7 separate regions of the Homo sapiens genome follow, and regions 1, 2, 3, 4, 5 and 7 are each linked to region 6. The links are contacts of gene promoters, found by promoter capture Hi-C in human tissues and cell types (Jung and others, 2019). All regions are on one chromosome and are shown on one strand. The core of a region is centred on a gene start or on the middle of the fragment in contact, and the rest is flanking DNA. Distances in the headings are between cores, read along the strand shown. Region 1 has its middle 78 kb from the start of LINC01829. Region 2 overlaps LINC01828 (long intergenic non-protein coding RNA 1828). Region 3 overlaps LINC01828 (long intergenic non-protein coding RNA 1828). Region 4 overlaps LINC01799 (long intergenic non-protein coding RNA 1799). Region 5 has its middle 63 kb from the start of LINC03050. Region 6 holds the start of MEIS1 (Meis homeobox 1). Region 7 overlaps LOC105374785 (a long non-coding RNA gene).

The links. Contacts are between HindIII fragments. The study calls those that stand out against the background at their distance.
Region 1: a contact is called between a fragment that was not itself captured here and the fragment with the promoter of MEIS1 in region 6, in 1 of the 25 tissues and cell types used here (H1 embryonic stem cells).
Region 2: a fragment that was not itself captured here is called in contact with the fragment with the promoter of MEIS1 in region 6 in 1 of the 25 tissues and cell types used here (IMR-90 fibroblasts).
Region 3: a contact is called between a fragment that was not itself captured here and the fragment with the promoter of MEIS1 in region 6, in 1 of the 25 tissues and cell types used here (heart right ventricle).
Region 4: a contact is called between a fragment that was not itself captured here and the fragment with the promoter of MEIS1 in region 6, in 1 of the 25 tissues and cell types used here (H1 embryonic stem cells).
Region 5: a contact is called between a fragment that was not itself captured here and the fragment with the promoter of MEIS1 in region 6, in 1 of the 25 tissues and cell types used here (H1 embryonic stem cells).
Region 7: a fragment that was not itself captured here is called in contact with the fragment with the promoter of MEIS1 in region 6 in 1 of the 25 tissues and cell types used here (mesenchymal stem cells).

What each region holds. Positions count from the first base shown.
Region 1 is chr2:67,291,720-67,294,419 of GRCh38, forward strand. No RefSeq gene overlaps it. Among named protein-coding and RNA genes, the nearest start is that of LINC01829, 78 kb to the left of the region's middle. The HindIII fragment of the contact is 8,300 bases long and covers 1-2,700 here.
Region 2 is chr2:67,274,840-67,277,539 of GRCh38, forward strand. All of the region lies in intron 3 of LINC01828 (long intergenic non-protein coding RNA 1828), which reads left to right. Among named protein-coding and RNA genes, the nearest start is that of LINC01829, 61 kb to the left of the region's middle. The HindIII fragment of the contact is 4,406 bases long and covers 1-2,700 here.
Region 3 is chr2:67,257,283-67,260,023 of GRCh38, forward strand. All of the region lies in intron 1 of LINC01828 (long intergenic non-protein coding RNA 1828), which reads left to right. Among named protein-coding and RNA genes, the nearest start is that of LINC01829, 43 kb to the left of the region's middle. The HindIII fragment of the contact is 7,091 bases long and covers 1-2,741 here.
Region 4 is chr2:66,957,635-66,960,381 of GRCh38, forward strand. The region is part of intron 4 of LINC01799 (long intergenic non-protein coding RNA 1799); the gene reads left to right. Among named protein-coding and RNA genes, the nearest start is that of LINC01628, 37 kb to the left of the region's middle. The HindIII fragment of the contact is 4,734 bases long and covers 1-2,747 here.
Region 5 is chr2:65,663,819-65,666,779 of GRCh38, forward strand. It overlaps the pseudogene KRT18P33. Among named protein-coding and RNA genes, the nearest start is that of LINC03050, 63 kb to the left of the region's middle. RefSeq lists enhancers at 2,650-2,699, 2,790-2,839. The HindIII fragment of the contact is 5,708 bases long and covers 1-2,961 here.
Region 6 is chr2:66,433,859-66,436,795 of GRCh38, forward strand. MEIS1 (Meis homeobox 1) reads left to right here and starts at 1,267. Exons shown (of 13, transcript NM_002398.3): 1 at 1,267-2,010. The coding sequence starts at 1,999. RefSeq lists a silencer at 319-418, enhancers at 663-1,539, 1,127-1,226 and a promoter at 1,025-1,565. The HindIII fragment of the contact is 8,281 bases long and covers 1-1,826 here.
Region 7 is chr2:66,984,265-66,986,964 of GRCh38, forward strand. All of the region lies in intron 1 of LOC105374785 (a long non-coding RNA gene), which reads right to left. Among named protein-coding and RNA genes, the nearest start is that of LINC01628, 63 kb to the left of the region's middle. The HindIII fragment of the contact is 3,017 bases long and covers 1-2,700 here.

The DNA.
Region 1 (2,700 bases), core at 140-2,639, 860 kb after region 6:
ATTCTCTAATGTTTAGTTTCCTCATCTTTAAAATAACAATAATAATATCTACTTCCCAGAGTGTTGCTATAAAGATGAAATGAAAACAAATCAAGTAAAGTATCTCACACAGGACAAGAGCTCAATAAACATTAGCTCTGTTTCTAATGTAAAAACAACAAAAAGAAGATTTATAGCTTGTTACAGAATAAATTGCAGTGTTTATGAATTTGTAGTTATTGAAGAGTTCAGCCTAAGTAGGGAGATGAACCAAAGACCTGTGGGTAGTCTGGAGACAGATTGGAAAGGAAAAAAGTTTATAAAGGCATTCATGTTTAAGCAGTAAATATGTTAGAGTTTTTCTTTAAGGCCAAGATAAACTACCTGATTTCAATTTTATGTATATATATATATATATATATATATATGGTCATATATGGTTTTTATATAAAGTAATATATATTATTTTTGCTACTTTGATAACTAATGTTAACTAAATAGTAAGTTTTCAGGTAGAACATTACAATAACTTCATATTTCTTACACTTGAAAAATTAACAGGACACATGGTGGGGAACAACACACACTGGGACCCGTCAGAGGGTGGAGAGTGGGAAGAGGGAGAGCATAAGAAAGAACAGCTAACGGGTGCTGGGCTTAATACTTAGGTGATGGGTTGATCTGTGCAGCAAACCACCATAGCACACATTTATCTATGTAACAAACCTGCACATCCTGCATATATACCCCTGAACTTAAAAGTTGGAAAATATGTATATTTGATTAAATATATATATCAAATATATATTTGATTTCATTATTTCAGGGAGGTATATACAAACATATATATAATGAACTTGGCTTTTCTCTCACCAAAAATCAGACAAAAAATTTTGCACAAGCAGAATCATGAACTTAAGTATTTGGGGGTAAACATTTTTCAAAGTAGCCACTGAAATGGATAGTGGAAGACCAATAAACCCTCTGGAAAGAGTGTGAGGAGACAAAGGCCCCACATACTCCATCAAGAAAGTAATCATCAATTTCTCTGTAAGGTTTCTAAAGGGAACACCAGAGAAATTTCATATAGTAGAATCCTTATTAGTAAAAAAATTGTGGCTATCTTGACATTTGGCCACTTCATTAATTATTGTGATTCAATTAAAGCAGTTTTTTAAAGACAGGAGGAGAGTTGACTGATTTTTTCAATGAATTAATTTTTGTTCAGCTTAAATATTCTTATTATTTTTGTAATCATTTAACAACATCAATAACAGTCACAGTTTTATTTGTTTTATAGAATGCTTCCCCATAGGTTATATTCTTAACTACCACAATGGCATTTGAGCTCATATTGTAGACTTAATTTTTTAAAAAATGAGGCTGAGAGATCACACGACTCCTGCAGATTTTCACAGTGCATAAATAGCAACTCCAGAGATGTCCCCACACAAGCATCTCCTTTCTGCAGAATTGTCCGGGTGTTTTGGGCATGCATTCTTCATAAGTTCGGTATTTTAAAATCAGAAGTGAGTCAATGACAGACTTTCTTTCTTTAAAAAGGAAAAAAAATAGTGATTTTTAATATTTTAAATTAGGAGTAATTAAAATGTCCTACAGAAAGGCCTGTGCTGATTCTAACTTTCACTCAGTGAAATTGAAATAATCTAACTCCAGAGGAAGCTTCAAGCAATTGAAAGAAGCCATGAGCCTTCCATTTAAACCAGTTCAATGTCCATCTCTGGTGTCAGAAACTTGAAGAACATTCACATTTTCCATTTGCTTTATCAATAGCTACCTCAATGTTTCTAAACTATCCATCACAATAGTGCTTAGGTAATTAGACAGAGGCGCTCTGGCACTGTATTATTTAAACATCATTTCCACGCAGCACAGTCAGCCCTACCATGTGCCATTATTTTGATGGGCTTCTCATCACTTAAATGATGAAGGAGAAAAATTACAATTTCCTCTAAATTCATTTGTAGATACTTGCACAAATAATGTTTGGCTATGATCATCATAGTGAACACTGGCTGTATGTCAACTAAATCCTTGGAGAGAATTTTAGCTCAATTGATGGTCCTAGTTAATTTCCCATAGGCAATTGTGAGAACTCTCTTCTTTCAAAGTTTGTTTTTTTTTCTTCTTTTTTTAGTGTTGGAAATCCCTTGCAAATTCACTTATTTTATTGGTTCTTCTTTTATTTCATTATCTATGGTCTACATTAAGATAAAAAAAATCCTAGGTGGTCTTAAACCATTGTAATTAGGTTTGGAGACTGGCTCTTTGTATAGTCACCAGATGAGGAAAAATGTGTGAAAAATTGGGAGATGTTTAATCTAGGGCAGAGGTTGGAAAATTACAAATCAGTGCCACCAAGTTGCTTATAAATAATGCTATAGTGGGTCATAGCCCTGTTCATTCATTTACATATCACCTACATTCACTTTCACCCTTTGATGGCAGCGTCAAGTAGCTGTGACAGAGGCTATGTAGCGCAAAAAAAAAAAAAAACTTGAAAAACTTAAAAGATGTTCTAACTGGCCCTTTAAGAAAAGGTTTACAGACCCTTGAGCTAGAGGGAACTTTGGTTCCTGGCAGTAGTTTAAAAAAAATATTTAACAAGTTTGTTTTAGCTGGTCTTCTTTTAGCTAGGAATCCAACATTTCGTTTCATCCCAGGACTTGTAATTGATGATGACAGTGATGTCCATGAGGC
Region 2 (2,700 bases), core at 79-2,578, 840 kb after region 6:
AGATCTGAATGCAAATGTAAAACTAAGCATTCGATAATGCTCACTTTCACATCTGTCAACATTTTAGAGTAACTTCAAGAGGAATACATTTGTGGTTCTAGAAATTCTTAGTTTATGCATAGAATACATTTGAGAGGACTTTGTTTTCACAAGTATCCAGGTATCAAATAAAAAAATACCATGGAATCACACACTTTTGAAGCTGGAAGGGATCATGAGAGTCATGTATACCTGCCCCTCATTTAACAGGTGTGATGAAAGTTCAGAGAGGTTCAGTTATCGCTCAAGATTACTCACATGACTGGATTTCAGGAAATTTGAAGGCAAAAAATAAATTAGGGATAGATTTCCCTCTGTACCCTTAGCATTTAAATGGCAAATCTCTCAGTCTGAGATAGAGGGCTAACCCAGACCAAAATTCACTGGTCACCTGACCTTTCTGTATTTTTACAAACAAAATTAAATGGAGAATTGAAACATTTGCCCAAATTGCTTTGGTTAATTTACTGAGCTTTGTTTACCTTAAAAAAAAATGAAATAGAGTAGAATAAAAAGGGTGACACATCTTACAGTATTTGAATATTAATAAAATCATATTTGATGTTAAATTTACTGTTTTTATTCTTACGTGAGTATATTTCATGACACTTTTCATGTTTCAGTTATAACTATATGTGTGTATATATATGTATGTGTCTGTATGTATATATATTAGATATATGCTAAGTTATAATATATAACTTTTTCTTACCATGAATCACAGTAAAAAAGACCAAAATTCACTTCAGTGGAAATTTCACTTTTGCCCCACTCACCATCTTTAAAAACAAAAAACCAACAATGAAAATAAAATGTAAAATAGAAGCTTCTCATAACATTTTGGGGGAACCTTGCATTAAACTATCACTTTCTTGTCACTGCAGCCCAAAATGTTCTTTCTCCTTCAGGCCTAGTGCAATGTCCTATAGGTTACTAAAAAAGAAACATTAAACTTAAGAAACTAGAAAAAGGGCAAATGCACAAAAGATGAAAAAGGAAACAGATCTTCCTTTCGTTGTTTTAAGATACATGTTTTTTTCTTTCCTAATATCAAAGTTTGGGGTAAACAACAAATGTAATTTGCTCAGTTCCTAGGACAGTAGATGTACAATAATACGTGTTAAAGGAACACCAAAATAAGGGTAAAACAGCAGACTTTAGACTCTGCTACTAACCTGTACAAAACTTGGTGGAGTTTATAATTTCTCTGAGCTTCAACTTTCTCAACCGTAAAAGGTGATGACTGGGCAAGAGCTGCATTTCTTTCAGGGATCTTTGCAGAACTCTTTCCATGGGCTCTTAATAAATGACCCATGAAAATCATTTCTAAATGATAGGTTAATAGTGGGCCCTTCACCGATTTCTACCTTCTTATGTATTCATGATCATCCAATGAGTCCTAACTTTCCAGCTCAGAAATGGTGACCTCCAAAGAAAAAGAAAAAAAAAAAAAAAAAAAGGTCCAAAGAAGAAGAAAATGAAATCACTCTGGATTTCTTAAATAAAACATAAAAGTATATCCAACTGCATGGACCAGATACTAGTAAGCTTCTCAAACTAGGAAGCAATAGTTTGGGCTGTGAATTAAAGACTTATTTTTCATATGTCCTTTCTTTTATACATGTGATCTTTCACAAAAAAAGAGAGAGAAATAGAAGGTACTATTTGGTTCCAATAAGTACCTTGTCCAAAAGACAACACAGCAATGGGCACTGTGCACCATTTGCTCAGGAGTGGTTCTGTAGCATCAGGACCAAGTGGGAGGACTGGAATTAGCAGGAGCCCTACTCACCTACTTCTGTGACTTTGGGATGAAAGAGAATCCAAATGAGCCCCTGCTCTGTATGGAATTGTGACTACCATTATCTACAGCTACAACTCCAGAGTTAGAAAAGATAACCCTATCTGTGAAGATAACCCTTCTGTGAAGGTCCTGAATCTGGGTAGCTAGAGGGCACGGTGTATCTGGGGAAGCACAGCATATTCCATTAGGCACACCACTGTGACTCTAAGCTTCCATTTCCTTATGCAAAATGGGAATGAAACTAGAACCTACCTTATGAGTTGTGGAAAGAATTAAATATATGTGTAGGACTTGACCCATTATCTGATACATAGTAAGTGCTCAGTAAATGTGCCTGGTTTTATTATAGTATAACTGAATCCGGACTATGATTAAGAGAGCAAAGATAATGAAAATTTAAATGATATGTTAGTATAGATGCATTCTGCTGTGATGTGAATGCATTAGAAAGACACTGGGGAGGCATACACATTGAATTAGAAACGAGCACCACCTTCATGGTCCATTTTGTTCACTTTCCAAGCAAATGGCTTGGAAGAGTTGAAGGAATCTGGTCACCCCTAGATGATTAGCAAATCTTGTACTTAATGGGCAAAATGAGCAGCCAGGGATGCATCCATTTCTCAGGAGATAGGCTCTTGCCATACATTTCCATTCTTTGTTTAAAATTGCAACACATTTTGGACCAAAAATCTTTGGGCATTTTGCATCTATCCTGCCATCCTGAGATTTGTATATGCCAACAAACACCTTCTAGTTATCATTATGTAGCACTGATACTTTGCTCTGGGGTCTATAATCATCTTTATGTGGTCAAAGATGGCTTCAGTTTACCCTGGCAAAGCAGATGACGGCTG
Region 3 (2,741 bases), core at 205-2,704, 820 kb after region 6:
TTTTCTTTTTTTTTTTTTTTTTGTTTGAGATGGAGTCTCACTCTGTCGCCCAGGATGGAGTGCAGTGGCGCAATCTCTGCTCACTGCAAGCTCCGCCTGCTGGGTTCACGCCTTTCTCCTGCCTCAGCCTCCTAAGTAGCTGGGACTACAGGCGCATGCCACCACACCCAGCTAATTTTTTGTATTTTTAGTAGAGACAGGGTTTCACTGTGTTAGCCAGGATGGTCTCGATCTCCTGACCTCGTGATCCACCCGCCTCGGCCTCCCAAAGTGCTGGGATTACAGGCATAAGCCACCTTATGGCCTTAGAATTACAACTTTCAATAGGAAAAAAAAAACCCTATGAATTCTCCAAAAATCAACAGAAGCAACGTTAACCTTTTTTTCTCTAATAACAAGGTGGTTATCTCCAGTGCCTTCTAGAATATCTTTGTCTGTTATTCTTACTCCTCATAAGCCCCCAAGCCTAATACTATCCTCCTACAGCCATACATTCAAATCGAGCCTCAGGATCTCAAGCAAGGTCCTTCAATTGACCTACAAAATGGGTGTTACCTCTGCTGGTAAGGAGACTAGACCTCTCCCTTGAACAATGTCATATCCCATGGCATCACTATTCCTCTTCTTCAGATTAAAGGCTGGATGGTGATGAGCAGATTTCATCTTTCTGCCAAGAACAGATTGACCCTGAGGTAAGTAGATAGCTTACAGTCTATCCCAGGACAAATGCAGGTAGCAGGCCTTCTTTCTCAAACAACACAAGTTTCTAAAAATTCCTTTCACCTCCATTAAATTTAAAACATAGTGTATAGTACTCTTTTCTTTATTCCAAATATTAAAGTGCATATCCATGGTAAAAATGATAATTTCTCAAATAGATACAGTCCTATAAATCATCTAGGGATAACAAAAACTAAGTTTCAATGAACATGCCAATTCTAAATGTCATGTAGTGGTTGCCTGGAGTACTATGTTGTAAAGGACTGTGACCTGCATTTACACTCAGTGGGGATGCTGCATTCAGTGAGCCAGCGTTGCTTAGGAGGATGGGAGAAGTAGAAATAGATCACGTCTATTGTCCTTGACCTCGTCCGGTGATCAAATACTGGACCAAATCTGGCCACACTTATGCATTTATATATGTTCTGTAGCTGCTTTCCCTCTGCAGCAACAGAGCTGAATCTTGCATCAGAGTGTGTGGCCCACAAAACCTAAAATATATTTACTCCCTGGCTCTTTACAGAAAAGTTTGTCAACCCCTGATTGTAGTCCAGCCCTCTCATCTCACAAATAATAGAATTAAATATATCTTCCTGTTTTTCCTTTCAACTTAAACCTTAGATTCTGATTAGCTAATCAAATCAAAGTAATAGTGACTTCTTACTAGAGTGGTACAAGCTGAGATCACAGTTTGTTACATGGAAGAACCACCATATGTGGAATCAAACCATGACCCAGACACCCAAACCGTATGTCAACTGTATTCTCATCTTAGGGGTGATATTTCTGAATTTCAATCTAGAGTTTACTTATCATGTGGCTTTTCTAGTTAAAAAAAATAAAATAGTATAATTTTGACAGGAATAATAAAAAGTATGTTTCACAATTGTAAATTGTCTCTCCATTTAAGTACACATGTCTGTCATACCATTGAAAGGAGGAATAATAAATCCAATATTTATGGTTTCACTATGGGTTACTGGCATCCTTGTAGTTTAAATAGGTGACTAAGAAGAAATCCTGCTGGCAAGCAAATTTATACATACTTATTTTGTGCCTTGACACGCTGAAAGTGTTCACATAAAATAATATAAGGCTTCTATAGCCTTGATTATTTCTGAATACTGCAAAATCTTACACTGGTATTGCAAACACACTTTGAAAACAGCTGGGGTAATCATGTTTAGTCTCAATCTGTGCTGTCCAATACAGTGGCCACCTGCCCCACGTGGCTACTGAGCACTTAAAATGTGGCTAGTTCAAATTGAGGTATGTTGTATGGACTGGATTTCTAAGACATGGTATGAAAAAATGAATGTGAAATGTATCATTAGCAATTTTTTGTAATATTCTATGTTGAAATGATATTTTAGATATATTGGGTTAAATAAAATGTGTTATGAAAATTACTTTCACTGCTCTTACTTTTTTGATGTAGCTACTAAAAAATTTAAAATTATCTATACGGGTCATGTATTTCTTTTGGATGTGCTCTGGTGGAGAAATTTTTAAAAAATATTTATGAAAGCAAGCCCAATGAGATAGGGAAATTGATACACACTTATAGAAAATGTACTACGTTCCCATGCCTCTGCTGATGTCATAGCCCTAACAACAATGAGCAATGTTCAAGGAAAGAAATAGCCCAATAAGTCAACATCTACCTGTTTAACATTATGAGAAAACTGAGGTCATGTCTCATGACTAAAGGCCTAATCATCTACTTCTCTTCCTTTTAAAAGTTTTAAAATAGTCCAGCAAAATTAGCACATAATCCCTCCCCGTATACTCACCCTTTCAAAAAGGAGCATGGCCTGAAAAATATCTGTTGATCTAACAAAAATAAAGAGAAGTTATAAACCAGACACTATCATGCAAATAGTTGAGTTGGCCAAGAATTTACTTCAAGTAATACCACATGACATTGTTTGATCTCTTTTGTTTCAGCAAGGATAAAAAGGCCAGCCATAAGGAGACATGACAAATACCATTGAGTACTGCAGAGCAACTTGGCAGCTGCC
Region 4 (2,747 bases), core at 156-2,655, 520 kb after region 6:
GTTCCCAAATTGATTAGAAGTAGTAGTTATAAATTTAGATTCCTGCTGTGGAAAATAACAGTAAAGCCATGTTCATTTTTAACGTTTTTCAAAGGTCCTTAGAAATGCCATTTTTCATACCATAAATCTGTGGTAGTTGAATGTTGGGTTGCTTTCTCAAAGGAATGTTGAAAGTACGGTTGCAGTTTGCTGTGGTCAAGCTTGGTGGAAAGAGTCACTAATGGGGACCCAAAAGGATTCTTAGAGTATCTGACCAATGTTGTTTTTGACGAAATCATATTGCTACAACTGAGAAAGATTAGAGAAAAAAAAACAGTTATCTGAGACTAAAATGATTCTTACCAATTATATTTGGCAGGTTTTCACCCGTTAATATTTTGTTCCTGGAAAGGCCTGTTCTGGAAAAAGAGAGATGCTGGCTTATCCATGTAGGGCAGATCCAACTAGGGAAAGCAAAATAGCACCTCAACATTATTCCTCTCTGAAAATCTAACTTATTCACTGAGTCTTCTGATACACGGTTTGTTTGGATAGGAGGCAACTGGTTCCCTGGTTCCCATGCCCACCACGAGGCAAGTTAGTCCACAGAATAGGAAAACCGACCTCCTATTTGTTTCCTGGGACTAGGAAGATGACTTTGCCACTTGAAAAATGAATTATTTTCCTACATTTCTTATCACCTCTGTTATAGGTGACGAATGTAAATTACAAAGTAAAAAATATTTATCTATAGTCTTTAAAGCTATAAAAACAGTTTTTACAGTACTTTTTTTTTACTCTTAGTGTAATAATTAGGTAACATATATTGCTACTCAATTTACCCACTTTTCATTTCATCTGGCTCTGTGACTTGCATTTATTTCAATGGCATTAACTAATACAGATGGAGTAATATAACAAAATTGACAACTGGCAAATAGATCAATATCAAGTAAGAGGATTTCTATAGCTAGTGTTCTACTAGCCAGGTAGTAAAATAAGGCAATTATTTGGTAATTTAGGTACAAGTAGAATTCTATTTGTTAAAGAATGGGAATCAAAATGATATGCATAATTGGCTGCATATCTTATTCATTCATTTACTTAATCATTCATTTATTTGACAAATATTTATTAAGTGCCAAAGGATAAAACATGGTTCTTTGTCTTACAGAGCGTATAATGGAGTTAGGATGACTGGATACACATGTAAGTCATCATCTTTACGTGCTTATTGTCACTTGGATCTGGCAGGTTGACTATTGAATAGTACCCGACTGGCACTAATAAAATTGCTAAACTGCTGTATTTCAAGTTACTTCTATTTTGCAACACTTTAATGGAATTATATAATTGTCACATCAGGAAAAACAAATTATTTGAAAATGACTCAAACATAGTAAAAGTAGACTGATCCATAAATGTATTAATAATTAAATTAGACATTTATACTTTCACATGTTTCTTAAAGTAGCAATTCTCATTTTAACACCAAGTCTGCCTCCTGAAGGACTTTATACATTTTCTCATGAGCCATTTGTGGCTTGGTCAGTGCTTTCATTTTTATTCTTGTGTCTTCTTTTCCTTCTTCTGTCAGACCGTGACTTGCTGTCTTAGGCCCTAACATCCTCATTAATATGGATATCTTTGTCAATGGTACTGCTGTTGGTAGAATAACTGGTAAGTTGAGATAGAGTGGCAGTTTCCATTCAACTTTATTTCACTTTTTCTGCTTTGAATGAAAACTCGGGCTACTTGCAACAATTCTGGTCACTGTCTAATAATAAAGAGTCACTGGGTCACTTCAGTTCATTAAGTCACAGAACCAAGTCACAAAATAATTAAAAGACCCAATCACATCAGAACTCCAAAGCCTGACTTACCTTTAAGTTGCCTCTCAACTCTAGCTTGTACCTGCTTAAGGCTGAGACCCTGCAACAGTGAGTGTGTGGAAAGCATTTGTCTTTCTATTGGACTCTGTCTCAGCTTACACAGATAGCTTCCCCCACCCTCCACCTGTGGCTTTTCTCCTACCCCGGGGTTGAAGGTAGGAGTGACAGAGAGTGGGGAGAGGTAAGGGGATAGAAAAATGCCACTTTGCTGAGAAGTACCATGCTCTCTGGATCTGGTGTACTGTTAAACTCATTCTTTCCTTGTGGGCACATATTTATCCTATTAAGAGATTCCTTGCTAGAGCTTTTCCTCCTGAAGTTCTCTTAACTCTGGTGGATGAAACTGTATTCCAGGTAGTCACTGAAACTTCTTGAGAAGAAAATTGCTAAACTGCTGTATTTCAGGTTACTTCTATTTTGCAGCACATTAATGGAATTATATAATTGTCACATTAGGAAAAACAGAAATTATTTGAAATTGACTCAAACATAGTAAAAGTAGACTGATCCATAAATTTATTAATAATTAAATTAGACATTTATACTGTCACATGTTTCTTAAAGTAGCACTTCTACTTTTAATACCTAGTCTGCTTCCCAAAGGACTTTATTGGCCCCTTGGGGGACACCTGTACCTTGTGGGTGCTGAGTGTGTCATTGCTCCAGGAGATCATATTGGACAGAACCCAATGCAATGCCACACTGGTCTTCTCTTCCACACCTCCCTCACGTGATTCATGGGAGACACGCTTGCATCTCTTGTCTTGCCAACTCAGAAAGTGCAGGCCAGTCTCTCCGCCACTACCTTCCACCACCAATGCAGGCAGCCAGCCAGCCTTCTCCAGATCACATGAGAGGTGCTGGCATTCCTGCGAT
Region 5 (2,961 bases), core at 340-2,839, 770 kb before region 6:
GGTGGAATGCATTTTATTTCTAGGTTAAAAAAAAGTCCTTGAATCAGACAAAAGACAACAGGTAGTGATGGAGAAGGCCCATTCTCATACTAGCACGTGCTTCACAGTATTTGCTTTTTCTTTGTAGGTTATGGAAAGGAGGCTCTCTTGATACCAAGCTTCAGGATCCACCCACAGGAAAAGGTGATTTCTCAAGTGTCGAGTCTTGGCGTACGATGCATTAGGCAATCAGCCCCTGCCTGTTTGATGGAGTTGTACAATAAACATGGGCTTGGGGGAATCAAGAACATTTCGAGAAGCATCTCTGGTGGAATCCTGATGCTGGAGGCCTCTACTTTGGGATGTGACATTTTTGGGTTGGCTGACTAAAGCTGTTCCTGGAGGTCAGCTGGTGGTTTTGCAAGTTCTTGGCTTTTTCCTGCATTCTGTCATTGTGCCTTGACTTTTTTAGTGGGGCGGGATTCCCCATGACTGAGGATGGTGGTTGTGGTGATGGTGTGAACAGTGAGACTGCCCTCTACCTCAGGTTAGGAGATGTGGGAATGAGACAGAGATGGAGGGGTATGTTCTGGCTTAATCAACTGGATCAGCTTCACTAAACTGGGTAGGTTTCAAGCATTCCTAGACACCAAAGCCTACTCCTTAAATCTGCAATGCAATGTTGGTGATTTTAGCCTTCTGGAAGACCTTTCCTTAGGTTAATGAGACAACAATTTGCTTAAATGTGGGACAATTTCAATATAGAAGTCATAATCTGGGCCATGGAATTTGGTCATAGGTTGATAGAAGATTTCTAGCCACTTCATAATAATAACTATATCTTATGCATTTTTTAATCTTCTTCATTAGTTCCAAGATATAGTTTAAGGCTCTCTTGGAGTCACCTTAGTTTGCCTTTAGTGCATCAGAAAGGACACTTTGATTTATCCCAGCATGGAGGTCAGAGGTTAACAACAGGACAACAAGCATATACTAAGCTCTTGCCATGGGTGTAGCAAGTGCGGTGCAGTGTGCAGACTCCATAGAATCCTGTCATGGCCTTTGCCCAGAAGAGGCTTCTGATTTTGCAGAGGTAGGATTTATATAACTGTTAGATTGAAAGTGAGGACTTCTGCAGATGCAGTTGTAAAATGTTGTCATCCTTTCCTTCTAAGCCTGGGCTGTGGGGTTAGCTCTCCATTCCCTGGGTCAGATCTAGAGAAAGTTCCATCACTTTTCTGGCTACTCCAGGATCTTTTGTTTGCAAAAATGTTTGTAATTCAATATTATCACAGTGGTTTTCAACCCAGGTGGCCCATCAGAATTGCCCGGGCAGCTCTTAAAAAATATTGATGCCTAGGCTACCGCCAAGACCAGTGAAATAAGAATCTTTGGTGATTGGAAAAAAAAATCTTTGAGGATGAAGCCCAGACATCAGTATTTTTAAAGCTTCCCAGGAATTCCAGATGGATAGACAGGGTTGAGAACCACAGAAATGGAATGTGCAATTCCAGATAAATCATGAAAAATTCCAATTCTATTTAAAATGAAAACCTCTCCTGTTCTCTTTCTCTTGCCTACAATTCTGAGTTAGGGAGAAAGACTTGGGAAGCCTTGACTTCTCACCTGACCTTACAAGTGTTTTCCTCCTAGCCAGCTTGCTCACCGATGTTGCCGACTGCTCTGAGGTTGGGGTGGGTAGGAAGGGAGGACAGGTAATGGCTGGGAGGGTCTCATGTGACTGGCATCAATGCCACCTGACATGGCTTCTTCTGGCTGTGGGAGAAGTTTGAAGTTGATTTGCTTTGGGGACAGAAGTAAAAATTTGTATATTCTTCGGAGATTGCCTTTCATCTCTGGGAGTCTCTTATCTGCAGTTTCTTTGGTTTTCCAGTAATCTGACTCACACAGAGAGACTCTGCTGTGTCCCAGTGGCCCCCAGGAGGCCATCTTAGACAAAGTCCCTTAAGAGGGTGCCAGGCTGGCTCTCCCTCAGTCATGCAGGCCCTCCTCTCCTCTCTCTGCTTTCAGCCCTGCTACCCACCCTTTCCCTTTAGGCTCATTCATCCAGCGTTCTGGCAGTACCCTCTGGTACCGCACAGACTTCAGGGGACCTTGAACAAGCTCCATTTTGTCTCCTGGAAGCTCATTCCACCAGGTTTGAGGTGAGGGGAAATACCACTTTGGCAGAAACACTAGTTGTCCCCCAATTTTTTTTTCCATTTTTTTTCCTACAGTGATAGAGTGAGTTTCATCTGCAAACGTGGCTTTTCAGAATAAAGACAACATTTCTCAGTTTCCCTTACAGCTACCCACCATGAGACTAAACCCATTGTCATGGTACTAAATTCTGATCAATGGCATATTGGGTACATGCAGTGTAGGCAACTTCCAGGAAATATCTTTAAAAGGAGGTGGCATGGCCTTCTTCTCAACCCGCTTTCCCACTGGATGGAAGGCAGTTGGCTGAGATCTTGGTCGCAGAAGTGGGAGCAGCATGTTGAGGAGGTTGGGCAGTAGGCAGGAAGCAGCCTGGGCCCCTGATGAGTCATACACACACTGACTACTGAAACTTGCATGTGTGAGAGAAATAAACTTCCATCTTGTAAAACCCACTATTTGTCACTGGTAAAGCCTGAGTTCTGTCCTCTCTCTCTCCTCCCTGGACAGTATGAGCTTCACCACTCGCTCCACCTTCTCCACCAACTACCAGTCCCTGGGCTCTGTCCAGGTGCCCAGCTAAGACGCTCGGCCAGTCAGCAGCATGACCAGTATCTCTGCAGGGGCTGGGGGCTCTGGTTCCCAGATCTCCATGTCCCCCTCCACCAGCTTCTGGGGTGGCATGGGGTCTGGGGCCCTGGCCGTGGGGATGGCCAGGGTTCTGGCAGGATGGAAGACATCCAGAACAAGAAGGAGACCATGCAAAGCCTGAATGACTGCCTGGCCTCCTACCTGGACAGAGTGAGGAGACTGGATACCAAG
Region 6 (2,937 bases), core at 17-2,516:
AAAGTTAAAAACAAAACAAAACAAAAAACAGTGGTTGGTTGGAGCCTCCGAGTTGTAGGTACAGGCAGCTTTTGTCTGAAATCTCAGCTTCCGAAGCGGATTTCTTTTTCTCTGGCACTGGGAGGTTTCGCCGAGCCGGGTTGGGGACGGGAAAGAGGAGCGCGGGGAAGGATGTCTGGGGTGGTGAGGGCAGGGCTTCGCTGGAGAAAGAGCTAGTGGGGCGCGAGGTTCTTACAGGCCCGGGAGAGGTCGAGGCTGGAGCCCCTCGGCGCCTCTAAGACAAAGGCAGCGGTGGCTGCAGCCGGAGCCTAGCACTCCGGCAGCGTCGCGCCGCGCCGCGCCGCGCCCTGGGCGCACGGCCGCCTCACCCCGAGCGGGTCGGAGAAAGAGCCTCCCTCCCAGCGGCTCCCCGGCCCCGGCTCCGCCCGCGAGGTCTGGGCTGCTGCGAGCCCGCGCCGGGTTTCGCTTTCCGACGATCATAAATAGCTTGGTGTTTGTAAACAGGCGCTGGGGGCACATTCCCCGCGCTCAGCTCATTGTTCCCTCCCTTCCTCTCTACTTCGCGCAGGACGCCTGGGCTGGGGCTGGGAGCCGCCGGGGCTAGGAGGTGGGGGAGTCCAGACCCGAAGTGACAAAATGCTAGCATTTTCTTTCCCCCGGCCGGGCGTCCACCTCTAACAGCAAAGAAACCTCTAAGCTGGGTCTGCAGAAAGCCCGAGCCACCTCAACCCCATGTTCTCAGGACTCCTTAGCAGAGGCTTTCCCAACCTGGCTTCTCCCTCCTTTTCCTCCACGATCCCGCTTTGACTTTTCTCCTTGCAGTGTTTAGTTCTGAGAATTCAGTACTTTGCGCATCACCCCCTGCCCCGAAAAACACTGGCAGACCCCAATAATTTCGAGGAAAGTCATGAAGTCTATGCGCGGAGCCCTGTGCAAAATAACTCCCGCTGCTGCCTGCCCGGCGTTGATTCCCAATTTATTTCAAGAGAGTCGGCTTTGGGGAGAGAGTCTGCAGGGGGAGGGAGAGAAAAGAATACTGAAAATAAAGCTGGCGGCCGCGGGCTACTGCCTGCGTTTGTGTGCGTGTGCCCTGGGTGTGTGGTGTTTGTGCCTGGGCGTGCGATTTAATGGAGCGCCTCTCTGCCTCTCCAGTGCGGCCAGAGCTCGCTTCGCGCACCCACCCCTGCCGAGGAGCCTACTTGCTGCAGCCCAATGCATTGTGTAAGACGCGACCTGTTATGGCCACCACTACTTCCGGGTTCTAGCATTCTGGTCGGAATCCACCTCTCCGCCTGTGCAACACACACTTTACACACGCACGGGGACTGCAAGCGGGCAGCATCGATCGTGGCTCCTTTAAGACAAACTCAGACAGACATTTTTTTTAACCCTCCTTCTCTAATCTCCTTCCAGTGCAGCACTTGCAAAGAGGGAGAGAGAGGGAGAGAAAGAAAGAGAGAGAGAGAAGAGAGAAACTGATTAGGAATTAGGACTGATTCAAGGGAAGCGAGCGCTAGGGCTTTGTGCATTTGAATATTAACATTTGAGGTGTTCTGACCAGAAGAAGACAGAGCGGATGATCATTCATTCACCACGTTGACAACCTCGCCTGTGATTGACAGCTGGAGTGGCAGAAAGCCATGAGATTTGGTAGTTGGGTCTGAGGGGCGCTCTTTTTTTTCCTTTTCTTTCTTTCTTTCTTTTTTTTTTTTTAAACTGATTTTTGGGGGAGAGAAGATCTGCTTTTTTTTGCCCCCGCTGCTGTCTTGGAAACGGAGCGCTTTTATGCTCAGTGACTCGGGCGCTTTGCTTCAGGTCCCGTAGACCGAAGATCTGGGACCAGTAGCTCACGTTGCTGGAGACGTTAAGGGATTTTTCGTCGTGCTTTTTTTTTTTTTTTTTTTTTTTTCCGGGGGAGTTTGAATATTTGTTTCTTTTCACACTGGCCTTAAAGAGGATATATTAGAAGTTGAAGTAGGAAGGGAGCCAGAGAGGCCGATGGCGCAAAGGGTACGTATTAAAAAACAATTGTGGAACTCAAATGTGAGATTAAATTGAAACGTGGCCGAAAGACACTGCTAAAAAGTTTCCTTTTTTTCTCTCTCTCTTTTAAAAAATGAGGCTCCTAAAGCCGTGGCCTAAGCGAGAGGATTTATTCAATGCATTTGTAGACTTATGTATGTTACTTGGAGTTGTTAATTAAAGGAATCTATTTATCTATAGATTCCTAACCAGCAGCTATATAAATAAAAATGCAAGCTCAAACAATCATCTGGGTTTTTTTTTAAAAAAGCTAGATACCTAAAGCTGTAATTTGAACATTCAGAGATCAGAAGTTTAAAGTTATGTTTAAACTAAAATATGCAGCTGGAAACTTCTGATATGTTATTGATTATGCTCATCTTTAATATCACTAGAAGTATTCAGCTTTTTAAAGGAAATAACTTTGTCATAGTATAGCCAATTTTTTGGTCAGAAAACATTCATCTTTTTATAGTAATTTCAATTTGTATAGACTTGTATACAAGGCAATATTTTGCAAGTTTCTCTTAGATAAGCCCTCTACTAATTGAATACTAAGCACACAGTTACTCACTTTAAAAATGCAATACTAATTTCCCCATATTCCTTTTTCAATGGAAATGCAGTGAGAGTAAAGTGAGACAATGACAACCCAACTGAGGTAGTTTCTTAAAAGAAAGGGGGTCTACAAAAAGCCTTCCTTGCATAATTTGTGTCCTGGCCCTCAAAGCCCTGTTTGCAAAAGAAAGTTACTAGGCTGACACAGTTTTCTTTACTCCTTTGGTTCAGGCAAATGTCAGCGTTCTTCCAAACTCTTTTCACACCTCTGGCTTTAAGGAGATGAAAGTGGCAATTCCTCCTTTCTTTGAAAATCATTTCACTCTCAGCGCCTCCAAATCTTGGGAAAATAACTGC
Region 7 (2,700 bases), core at 39-2,538, 550 kb after region 6:
ATTTCTCAAAAACTACGTTCAGTAAGTGAGGATTCCATGGAGTACTATATGTTCAAGCAGTGAAGTGCTAGAAAAATATGAGTAACATAGTCCATGGTGGCAAGTTGCATATCTATCCACTTGGTGACTGATGCGTATTCTTTGGACTTTAGCTACCAATGTTTTCTTTCAACTTAATATATCCATCATATTTCCTACTCATTGTATTATGTGAATTTATGTTTTGAGGAGATTTGTCAAAAAAAAAAAAACAAAACAAGAGAATAACATTCAGACCAGTTAACCTGTTATTCTTGACTCTCAAAAGCCTGGCTGTAGTTGAAGATAAGTCAATTGAACAGACATGCATTGAGCATGTAGCAAAGTGTTGAAGAGGGTGTGTTGTTGAAGCAGATCATTTACTTTCAAATCTCAGCTCCGTAATTCTAGCTGTGTGCCTTAGATGCATGGCTTACCTAACTTTTTCTCACCTGAAAATGGGAATAGTAACAGTTTCAATCTCATAGGACGGTTACGAAGATTAAATAATTTTTTGAGAGGTGGTGCAAGTACTGACACATAGTAAGTGTTAATGTTTTCTTTATTATCATTGTTATCATCATCATCATCATCATACCAATCACATGCCAGTCCCATAGCTAGTGCTAAATATTTATTGAATTCCTTGTACAATTGAATTCCTTGTACAAACTAGGCATTGTTCTAGGTGTTGGGGATGTAACAGTGAAAAGATAGACTAAGCCTCTGCCATCATTATGTCATATTAGTCATTGGTTTATTCAACAAATATTCACTGAGGGCCTTTGATGTACCAGGCACTTCTAGGTACTATGACAGCTGTTTATTAAGACTGAAAAATCCCTGCTCTCATAAACTTATGTTTAGTCATTTAGGTGTGGTCTTTTCATCTAAACTATGTGTTTCTTGGGGCCAGTAACTATATCTTAATTATCCTGTATCCCAAGAGCCTACAAAAGGATTATCACATAGAGACTTATTTCATAAATATTAAATTAGTAAATGCATGAATGAATGAAAAAAAATGAAATGAACACCTATGTTCACTAGGCACAAATAAGTTAGCATTAACTAATTTTGAATGAAGTTGAAATCAACCATCCTTGTCAGAATCACGTCACACACCATTCCATGAGATTCCTATTGAGGAACGTAACACCCACCCTACTTCTGAATTTGGAAGCTCAGTTTTCACAGGCAGCAAGTATGGCAAGAGGGAATAAAATCCTCACAAGAAACAAGATTCCAAAGGAATATATTAAACAGAACATTAGGACTCTGCACAATTTGCAGCAATAGAGATTCCAGCTAAATTTCTCAATTCAGCTTTGCTTTCTATTCGAAGTAGCAATGAAATCATGAAAAGTGTAAAAGATGTGGAATGATAAAAACAACCTGGAGACCATGTCTAAAAAACCTTTAGAAGTCTTTGCAAATTAATTAATAATGATTTTGTTCTGCTTGAAATAAAAATGGAGAGATTATATCTAATAACACTTTGTGATATGTAGAAAATAAAGAAGGACAATAACCATGCCCCCGTCCTTGAAAGAGCACCTATTGTAATTAGGTGAGATAATAAAGTTTGCGCAGGATGAAGGCCATGTTCAGGTATTGGGAAGAGCAGGAGAAAGGGGAGAAATTTGGGATTTTTCTCAGGCCTGACTTGAGGAAAACTTGAACACTTCAGATGCTTTATGAAAGCCTAGAGTATATTGCTCAATTTGGAAGATGTTTCTTTAAACAGCTTCAGAAATATAATCTGACCCATTTTCCTCAGCCATGCTTATGGGAAAGCTTATCAACAAAACGGTTTTATAGGGAAATGTTTCAGAGACCTTCTGGCTGCCCCCACATGCAAATCATCAGGCAGCATGCACTTGGAGAACAAGAATATAATCAATTGCACAATGAAACATTTCCATTTCTCCTCTTGAACAGAAAAGAAGGAGCTAAAAATGTCCCAAATCCTAGAAACCTCACCAGTAAAGTAAGAATCATGTAAAGTTTTCACTAAGGCTTAGGAAAGATGTTTAATCACATTAACCTCTATTGATACAGTGCTTGGTATAAAATTACATTCTATAGTATTGTCCTAAATTTCTAGAGAGGAAAAAAAAAACCCAATCCTGGTTGCTATTTTTCCTTAGGTAAATAAGTTAAGGTCATGTGGATAAGTAGAAAATGAGAAGCTTCGACCATAGCCTGGTGACTATACCTTGTGTGTGTGTGTGTGTGTGTGTGTGTGTGTGTGTGTGGTTTGGAAGATGCTTTAAGATTCAAATACTGATTATGGGAACTACAGGAAATTCTTTACATGTAGTCAGATTGGAAATGTGACAGACACTGTTTGGGTAAGACAATACAGCTAATATGTCCCTATGGTAAGATGGTCACAGCATGCAAAGTTTGAATTTTTGGGCTTCATCTTAACCCAAGGACCAAGCATATATTGTGCTTGCTGGTCAGAGAAAAACAAACAAACAAAAAAGAAATTGCCTAAAAGGAAATCTACCTTATCCTGAGATAAAATGTACATGAAATAGGGTTATAACAAGATTTACATTCTATAATCATTAGGAATAAAGGGAATATTTGCAGATCTATCTTCCTAAAGAACAAATTGAAAAACTTTTCTGATAAAATCTTTCCACACTGTGATATTCAGTTCTGTCAGATACC